2 separate regions of the Homo sapiens genome follow, and region 1 is linked to region 2. Evidence: promoter capture Hi-C in 16 types of primary human blood cells and fetal thymus (Javierre and others, 2016). All regions are on one chromosome and are shown on one strand. The core of a region is centred on a gene start or on the middle of the fragment in contact, and the rest is flanking DNA. Distances in the headings are between cores, read along the strand shown. Region 1 has its middle 110 kb from the start of LINC02691. Region 2 holds the start of C14orf180 (chromosome 14 open reading frame 180).

Region 1 (4,478 bases), core at 1,663-4,162, 240 kb before region 2:
GCACCCTCCCTGCCCTCAGCCTGAGCCGAGCCTCTGTGACCTCATCCCGCTGTGTCGTGTGCACCATTGTGGGCCCTTCTGGGCAGTCAACAAGTGTGATGTGCTCACCTGGGCCCCGCTATGTGGAGTGCTTACCTAGGGCCCGGGTACCACACCCAGTCTCAGGCTCTTGCCCACAACTCATACTCCTTTTCTCCACATCCTTTTCTCTTCTTGTGCCTGGCATAGAGCCTAGCCCAAACCAGGACGCACAGGAGCAGGAGTGGCCCTCAGAAATGGCCGTGCCCACTCCCTGTCCCTGCAGCCCAGTGGAGACTGGGGAGTGGGGAGGCCCAGTGGGGAGGCCCAGTGGGGAGGCCCAGCCTGTGGGGACAGGCAGCCACAAGCAGACACAGCCTGAAGGAGAAAGCATCCCAGCCCCTCCCTCTTCTCTCAACCCCGCACCAAACTGCCCTCCCTCCCCAGCCCAGCCCAGCCCCCAGGTCTCTTCTGCTGCCAGCTCACAGTGGTCACATGCCTTGGGCCTGGTGGACCATGTGGAGGAACGGAGGATGGGTATTCGCAGGTGGAGGAAGCGGGTCCCTGCGAAGTGGAGAGCTTTGTCTGGGGTCACACAGCGACTTAGTCTGGGGGTCCTGAGACCAGAGCCCAGCCTAGTGCTGGGTCTTTGGCAGCTTCCATTCCCAGACGCCAGGGTGGGGGAGATGTTCCCTCACACGTCTGCCAGCATCCTGTCGATGGCCTGAGACTGTCTGCCCACTGTCTTCTGCGGGACCCTGGGCCCTGGGCCCTGGAAGAAAGGGATCCGTTTGGAGAGGAGCAGAGAGCACCAGCCACATGGAGCCCAAGGCACACTGTGTGCAATGCCAAGCAAGCCACGCACCGTCTGTGGGACTCGGTTTCTTGTTCTGATAAACAGGGGACATGTGTGCTCCTCACAGGGCTTCTGTGAAGATTAACCAGTGAGCACAGAGCACCCAGCCAAGGGGGCAAGTAATGGGCTGGAAGCTTCTGTATTTGTTTTCAGAGGATTTTCTGCTGCCTCTCACTCCTATATCTAATTAGAATTAGGTTCTGCTGGATAGAATAGAAAGCTCCCCAATAATCATGACTTCAACATGATAGAAGTGTATTTGTCTGTGTGTTTGTCTGTGTGTTTCTGAAGCTGGAAGGGGGCAGGTCCAGGGCTGCTGTTGTGAACTTGGCATCAGGAGCCGTGGCTGCTTCTGTCCTGTTGCTCCACCATGCATGGCCTTTATTCCTGAGGTTTCCTTTCCATCGCCAGATCTTAGTCACATGGCAGACCGCACTGCAAACAGGGCTGGGCAATGTAGCCTTTATTCCTGGAAGACACCTGCCCAGTGAAAATTGTGTGTTCTATTACTGAAGAAGGGGACCGCAGATATTGGGGGCAACTGGTAATCTATGCATGACCTACAGTCACATGCCTGAGAAAAAAAATATTTTTAAGACCTGGAATGAATAAGGATATTTTCAGCTAAAAGTGGGAAGAATTTGTTAACAATAATCCCTACTTTAGGAAGAGGGAAAATGATCTAGGAGGATGTTCTAAAGCAAAAGAAAGAATAGCAAGCAAAGAAAGGTGAGACATGTGGGTACACTTCAGTAAACATTGACAATATGAAGCCATGGTGGTAATGTCTGACTAAAAAGAACAAGGTAGAAATAAAATGCTTGATAATAATTACATATAGATAGGAGGTCAGTGTTGGGAGTGAAAGTATTCTCAGATCCTGTATGGTTGGAGAGGAGAGTAAGAGGATTACAGTATTAACTATTGCATTTTGCTTATTTTCTTGCTAATCATTTTAATTTTATTAACATTTTATATGGCATATATAAGAGTATAAAATGTATGTATATGGTTTAAAGAAGAAAAAGAAGATTAATAATCATGTAAACTCCTCTGTAGCCACCACTTGGATAAAATCCTCCCGGAGCCTCAACAGCCCACGGAATGCTCCTCCCTAATCATACTCTCTTCTTCAATCCCCAGTGTTCCCGGGTAATGCGAACTTGAATTTGTGTTCATCTTTCCCTTGTTTTCCTTGATCGTTTTTGCCATTTATATCTGTGATCCTAAATAACATATTGTCTTGTTTGAGCTGCTTTTAGACCTTATGTAAATAGAACCTTCTTCATATATAACGTTTGTGTCTTGGTCTTTCATTCAATACTATATGCATGAGGACTATCCATTTGAATGTTTATGGTGCAGTTCATTAGTCTTTATTGCTGTTGGGTACTCCGTTGTGTGAATATGTCACAATTTGTTGATCAGTTCTATCGCTGATGGACATTTATGTTGTCTGCAGGCTTTTTACAATCACAGTGCTGCTATAAACATCCTGGTATACATCTCCAGGTGCGTGTGCATGAGCCTTTCTCTGGGTGAGCCTGCTGGAATGCTGTGATTGGGGTGCAGGCATGTTTAAGCAATGGGGCCCCACTCTGTCTGAGCAGCCAGCAGGGCTGGAGCAGCTTGGACCCTGGACTTTCTGTCTGGCCTTGCAGCCTGGAGCAGCCTCGCCCATTTACTCCATTGTGTCATATAAGTACTGCTGTTTTCTGCCAGGAGTTGGAAAAGGTTTGGGGTCCTCTAGAGATGGCACCCGGTGAGGAGTTGCTGGCTTTTTAGTTATGTGCAAGTCACCTCTACTAGGTGTGAGAAACTGTTTTCCAAAGTAAGTGTAGCTCTGACAGCTGTGGCTGAGACATCCTATTGCCCACTCATCCTTTCCAGTACCTAGAATTGATCTGCTTCTTAATTTGTGCAAATTTGGTTGTAGTAAAATGATATCATATTATTTTATTTTGACTTAATAGATAAATACAATTTAAATCCAGTCCAATCCTATCTAATCCAATTGTCTATTATTGAGCATGTATATAGCTGAAACAACAAAACTCACACAGTACTAAATGGTATGTTCACTGATCTTCTCTTCCCTGATCCTGCCAGTGTCACCTCTAGAATTAACCATGATTGACTTAAAATTTTTTTGTTCTGGCATTTACACATCTGCATTTTTCTAAATATTGTGTATATATTGCTGCCTTTTTATTAATTCATTTAGAATATAATTTTTAAAATTTCCTGTTACAGTGATGAGAATTTAGCCCTTGCATTCTGCTAGCTCCTGTGCTCTCCTTTCTTCTCTTCCAGTATAGTTATACTACAATTTTTGCTTAAGTAAAGTTTGTACCTTTACATTGTCTATATAACATTCATAGCTCAGCCTAACATTATAGTATACTCCAATTATGTTTCCTTTTTTACTTTCTGTGTTTCCTAAAGTTATTCATTGCCTTGCTTTTTGATTTGCTTACTTTTTTTTTTTCTAACCTATTACTAATTCTTCCCACATCTTCAAATGTCCTTTTTGTGCACTTTTCCACATCACATATTCCTGTAAACCCTCTGCCTGAAGATCTTTTTCTCCTCTCATCTGGGCTGGCTGCACACTTCGTCCCGGGACTTGCCTCTGCTGATGCTTTTCTCCCAGGTGGGGGTCCCTGTTTCCTGGATCTCATTCATGTCTTCCTTTCTTGGTTTGCTCCCTTGTTTGGCATGAACCATTTTGTGGGTAAATGATGTGAAAAGATGGTTCATCAGCCCTGACAACCTTCAATATTCTGGTGTCCTGAAAAATCTGCTCTGATCTAGACTGGTTGCCCTGTATGCCTGGATCTTCCCTCACCACCATACTGGATAGTCCTTTCACTTTTCTCCTATTTTCTAGAGAAAACTAGCAACCACTAATCTTTTTTCAATCTCTATAATTTTGTCATTTTGAGAATGTTGTATAAATGAAGTTGTAAAGCATGTGACCTTTTGAGATTGTCCCCCCTCCCAGCACAATTCCCTTGAGAGCCATCTGAGTTACTGCATGCATCAACAGTGCTCCTTCTTATTGCTAATACTCCATAGCATAGATGTACAGCAATTTGTTCAACCATGCACCTATTACAGGAAATTTTGGTTGTTTCTAGGTTTTGGCTATTACAAATAAAGCTGCTATGAACAACAGTGTACAGATTTTGCATGTGAATATAAATTTTTATTTTTTAGGGTAAACGACCAAGAGTGTAATTGCTGGGTCATAGGGTAAGAGTACGTTTGGTTTCATAAGAAATTGCCAGACTGTTTTCCAGGTGGTTGTACTACCTTAAATTCTCACCAGCAATGTATGAGTGATCTCCAGTTTCTCCACATCCTCCCCAGCATTTGGTATTATCACTATTCATTTTAGGTGTTCAACTGGTATGTAGTGGTATCTCATCATGGTCTGAATTTGCACTTCTCTAATGGCTAAGGATGTTGCTCCTTAAGTGTTGTGCTCTGGCATCTTGTTAGCCTCATCCTAGTCCTGGCTCTGCCACTCCCCCTTCATCGTCAGTCCTAGAGACACCTGCTGCTGCCAGTTCCTGAGATTTTAAATATTCTTGGGAGCAAA
Region 2 (4,315 bases), core at 583-3,082:
GCCTGACACAACTGGGCTCTTCCCTGGCACTGCCTGGCACAGGCACTGGGGACCCTCCGCGGACCCGGCAGCTCAGCACTCCCCTGGGCCAGCCTTATCTTGCCCTGCAGAGCCCAGGCTGGAGTGAGGCGCAATGGACGGAGGCGAGGAGGGTGCAGCCGAGCCCTATCAGATACGGCCGGAAATATGACCCCGCTGGGACCTGAGCCCTGAGCCGAGCCATCAGCTCACTAATAAATTACCCAGAGCGAATGTCCACAGGGTCAGCCCGCATCGCCTTTCCAGGGAGCACAGAGAGGGGGCGGCACCCAAGGTCTGTGGGCTGACCGTTCCCTCCCCTCTGTCAATGAGAAGGGTCAGGAAGGAGTTGTCCCGGAGCCCCCCGACCTCGGGCAGTGCAGCCTGACCTCTGAAATCTGGGAGGAGCAGCTCCAGCCCTGGGAAGCCAAGGATAAGCGCCCAGATTGGGCACAGGCGGGAGAGGGTCTTGTCTGGCTACAGGACCTCACTCTTCCCAGGAAGCCAGACTGCCAGCAGGACCACCCAGCCTTCCTCAGTGCTCTCCCTGGAACAAGCGTCAGCGAGCCAAGGCCCTCCTGCCAATCTGGCCCACCCCGTTTGTGTAGACACAGAGCGCACTGTGTGCCATATGGCCCTGTAAGAGAAAAGTTTGCTCCCCCATGCCCTGTACTGAAGACGGCAGTGAGGGGAGGGCCGGTCTGCTGAACCCCATCCCAGTGGCTGCGTTGCTCATGCTCTGACGGTGGGTTCCAGGACTCTGTGTCCATGCAGCCCCACGGCTGGCCCTGAGCAGTCACCCTCTGTGCACACTGTCCCCCAGCCTGGCACACCCTGGGCTCCCAGGGGTCCTGTAGCTTTACCCAAGGGAGATGCACCCCCATTCCTAATGGAGAAACACGGGTCTCTCCACACCTCCTCCAGCAGTCCCCTGAAACAGGTCAAAGCCCCACAAACCAGGCAGGGGTCTGCCCACATGTGGTGGTGCCCTGCGCCAGTGATGCCCTCACCAGCCTCTTTCAGACCTGCCTTTACATGCACCAGCAGACGGGGGGGCTGGCGAGGACGGGCCACCAAGCCTGAGCCAGGCTACCACCTCCGGGCTGTGTGACTCTGGACAGGGTGCCTCAACTCTCTGAGCTGCACTTTCACCTACAAATGAGGGGCAGACTCAGCAGCGCCAGGCAGGGCAGTTGGACGCCCACCCAGGACAGACCCTGAGAAAGGCTGATCCCTCACCCCTGCCATCGCTCACTGACCCATACATTGCCCCTTCCTGCCAGGGCAATATCGAGGGTCGGCCAGTGTGCCCCAAAACGGCAGCTTGGGACCCATTCTTTGCCTCTCCCTCTGGCAACCCCAGGTCAGGACTCACAGGGGCACAGGGGCCTGGGGCAGGGCGGGCACTCTCGCCACCACGGAGGCCCCATGCTGGGTCAGGGTCTTATTGGAGGCTGGACTCTGTGATCACCTCACCTCCCGCAGCCCCACAGTGCCCTCCCTCTCCCACTCTGCCCCGAATTCCAATCCATAGGTTTTTCCAAGAGCTGCACAGCTCTGGAATTGACCTGGGAGGGGGCACATTTGGGCCGGGAGGGGTAGGAACAGCAGCAAACTCTGGTCTTATCTGAAATCATGGTCTGTTGTCCACCGGGGGCCTGGGAAACAGCCACCCCCTTCTGCTCCGGGGCCAGCGGCCTGTCCTCGGGTTCACTGCTATTTCTGCCAAAGGGGAGAGGTAATTATAGCCTGGCCGCTGCCAGCTGGCCCAGCTTTGCGATCCAGCAGAGAGGGCTGGAGACGGGACGAAGGCCACAACAGACCCGGCCCTGCCAGCGGGCGGTGGCGCCTCCAGATCAGAGCCCTCGGGAAGGAGGCCTGGGCGGGCCTGGCCCGTTCACCTGTGTGCCCTGCAGTTCTGCCCGAGGCTCAACTCTCAAGGGCCTGGGAGGGGTGCTGCCGGCCAAGAGGGTCCAGGACCTCACTGGACTGTGCCCCACAGGGAGATCCCGAAGAGCCTGTTTCTGTCCCTCGGGGAGCCAGGAGGGAACCAGGTGAGTTCCAGCCCCAGGGAGAGGGGGCTCACTTCCTGCTTGGGTATGAAGATGCCAGAGCGGAGAGATTGCCAAAGGCAGGTGCAGGTGGGGAACCTGCCCCAGCTGGGCAGCAGGTGTGGGCAGAGACTGGGCAGAGCGGAGAGATTGCCAAAGGCAGGTGCAGGTGGGGAACCTGCCCCAGCTGGGCAGCAGGTGTGGGCAGAGACTGGGCAGAGCACACACTGATGATCCTGAGTGACCTGAACAAGCTCCAGAGTGGCCACCCTTCCCCCTTCTCCTGGGACTGATGGTTTCCCTAAAACGGAGACAGTCCCAGGCCGGCCCTGTGTCCACACTGAGGCCAGGCCGCCTCTGGGGGAAGCAGGGAACACGGCCACTTCAAACTTAGCAGCGGGGGTGCTCCTGGCCACACAGGAGCTTCCAAAGGGCACCTGATGTTGCGCGAAACAGCCTGGGCAGTGGGAGAAGGGGCTGCACTCTCAGGGGAATGCAGGCAGCCGTGCCAGGCATGAACCCAGCCAGCCTTCCCTGAAGGGCCTTGGTGGGGGGCATCCTCCGAGGGCAAGTCTACGCAGGCCCAGCCTAGCAGGAATGGATTCGTTACTCCAGTAACTGAAGCCTAGTTCTCAGTGTTTGGGAATCCCTGAGAACTGGCTCTTTTCTGAGCCGTCAGTCAGAAGGAATCCCTGTCCTGCCCTGTGTGGCCATGGGACCCCCACCCAGCACTGGACGCCACGCCATTTCTTGGGCACTACTGAGCTTTGCAGTGCCCTGGACAGTTGGCAAACAGCCCCCATTCCACATATGGGAGGAAGGGCCTGGGGGGGTCCCCCGCCCTGTCTGTCTGGAGCTCTCGAGGCCTAGGGTGGCCCCTGCACCCAGCAGATGAGCAGCCATCACCCGGTACTGCTGCTACCTCGAGCCCTAACTGCACCTCGGGATGTGAGGGCCCATCTAGGCATGGAGAGGGGCCTCAGGGGGCCACCAGGCAGCTCCTGCTCCTGTTCCTACCTGGTAGGGCCTGCAGGCACCTGAGCAAGCCCAGTGGGCGGTCAGCCCAGCCAGGGGCCTCCCCACAAGTTCTCCCTCTTACTTAAGTCGAGAACGCATGTTGTCTGGGGAGCTGCCAGCGTGGTTCCAGTGGTGAGCGTTGGGCTGGGAGCCAAGGCTTTTCCCAGGAGCCCAGCCACCCCGCCTGGCTGTGTTCTGCCTCCGCCCTGCAGAGGAAAGGCCAGCGAGGCAGTGTCCATGGTCCCAGTCTTCTTCCACCGGAAGAAGGCACAACCTGCATCTGCAGCCCCAGGGCCATTGGGTTAGGCCTGTGGCCAAACTACTAAGGTGCTGGGAGACTGAGGAGGCCCAGCTCCTCCTGGGGCCACCAAGCCCGTGGTTGACGGCCTCCCCATGGACCGGGCTGTCCCGAGAGCAGCAAGTCAGCCGGGGCCCTCAGGGCCGCTGAGGCCACTGCTCAGTGTCGCCGTAATGGAAACTTCTCAGCTGGTTGTGAGCCGCAACAGCTCTGGTTCACACCCTGCGACAGCGAGGCTGTGACCGCCAGTGGATCTCGGGGCTGATCAGGCCTGAGCCACCCCGGAGGTACAGCACCAGCAGGAGCCCAGGTGGGCAGGGGCAGAGAGAGAGAGAGAGAGAGAGAGAGAGTATGTATGTGTGTGTGTGTAAGTGGTGGGGGTGGGGGCTGTGAGTCTCCAGCTTCTCCCAGGGAGGTCTCTGGCTTCCCAGGAGCCTGGCCCCCTGTCTCCAGCTCCCAAGTGAGTTGCCCTGGGGGAGGCTGCACCTGGAACAGGGAAACAGGGAGCCTGGCCCCAGCCTGCACTCGCTCAGGCCCCGGGACCCTCTGCCCCTGGAAGGCTGTGAGGCTGCCGTGTGAATGGGTGCAGTGCCAGGCGAGGGGTGAGCCGGGAGTGTGGGGCCGCACGCTCAGAGCCGAGGAAGGGCAGTGCCAGGCGAGGGGTGAGCCGGGAGTGTGGGGCCGCACGCTCAGAGCCGAGGAAGGACCTCCCATGTGGGGTGGGTGGGATGTCAGGATTTCTCACGAGCCAGCTGCTGCATGGGGGGCACTGCCCGCCCCGAGGAACCCTCAGGGAGGACAGAGAAACATCAGGAGGTGGGCTGTGGGCAAAAGGGCGGGCGGCACGGGCCAGGCAGAGGCAGCAGCCTGGGAGGAGGCGGGAAGCCAGCGGGCGGCGTCCTGGAGGACGGGGCAGGAGTGGGAGGGAGCA

The links. Contacts are between HindIII fragments. The CHiCAGO score rates a contact against its expected background, and 5 or more counts as called.
Region 1: a contact is called between a fragment that was not itself captured here and the fragment with the promoter of C14orf180 in region 2, in 1 of 17 cell types (endothelial precursors). The highest score is 5.1, in endothelial precursors.

The regions. Positions count from the first base shown.
Region 1 is chr14:104,335,057-104,339,534 of GRCh38, forward strand. No RefSeq gene overlaps it. Among named protein-coding and RNA genes, the nearest start is that of LINC02691, 110 kb to the left of the region's middle. RefSeq lists an enhancer at 1-473. The HindIII fragment of the contact is 3,813 bases long and covers 1,007-4,478 here.
Region 2 is chr14:104,577,932-104,582,246 of GRCh38, forward strand. C14orf180 (chromosome 14 open reading frame 180) reads left to right here and starts at 1,833. Exons shown (of 5, transcript NM_001008404.3): 1 at 1,833-2,072. The HindIII fragment of the contact is 16,067 bases long and covers 1-4,315 here.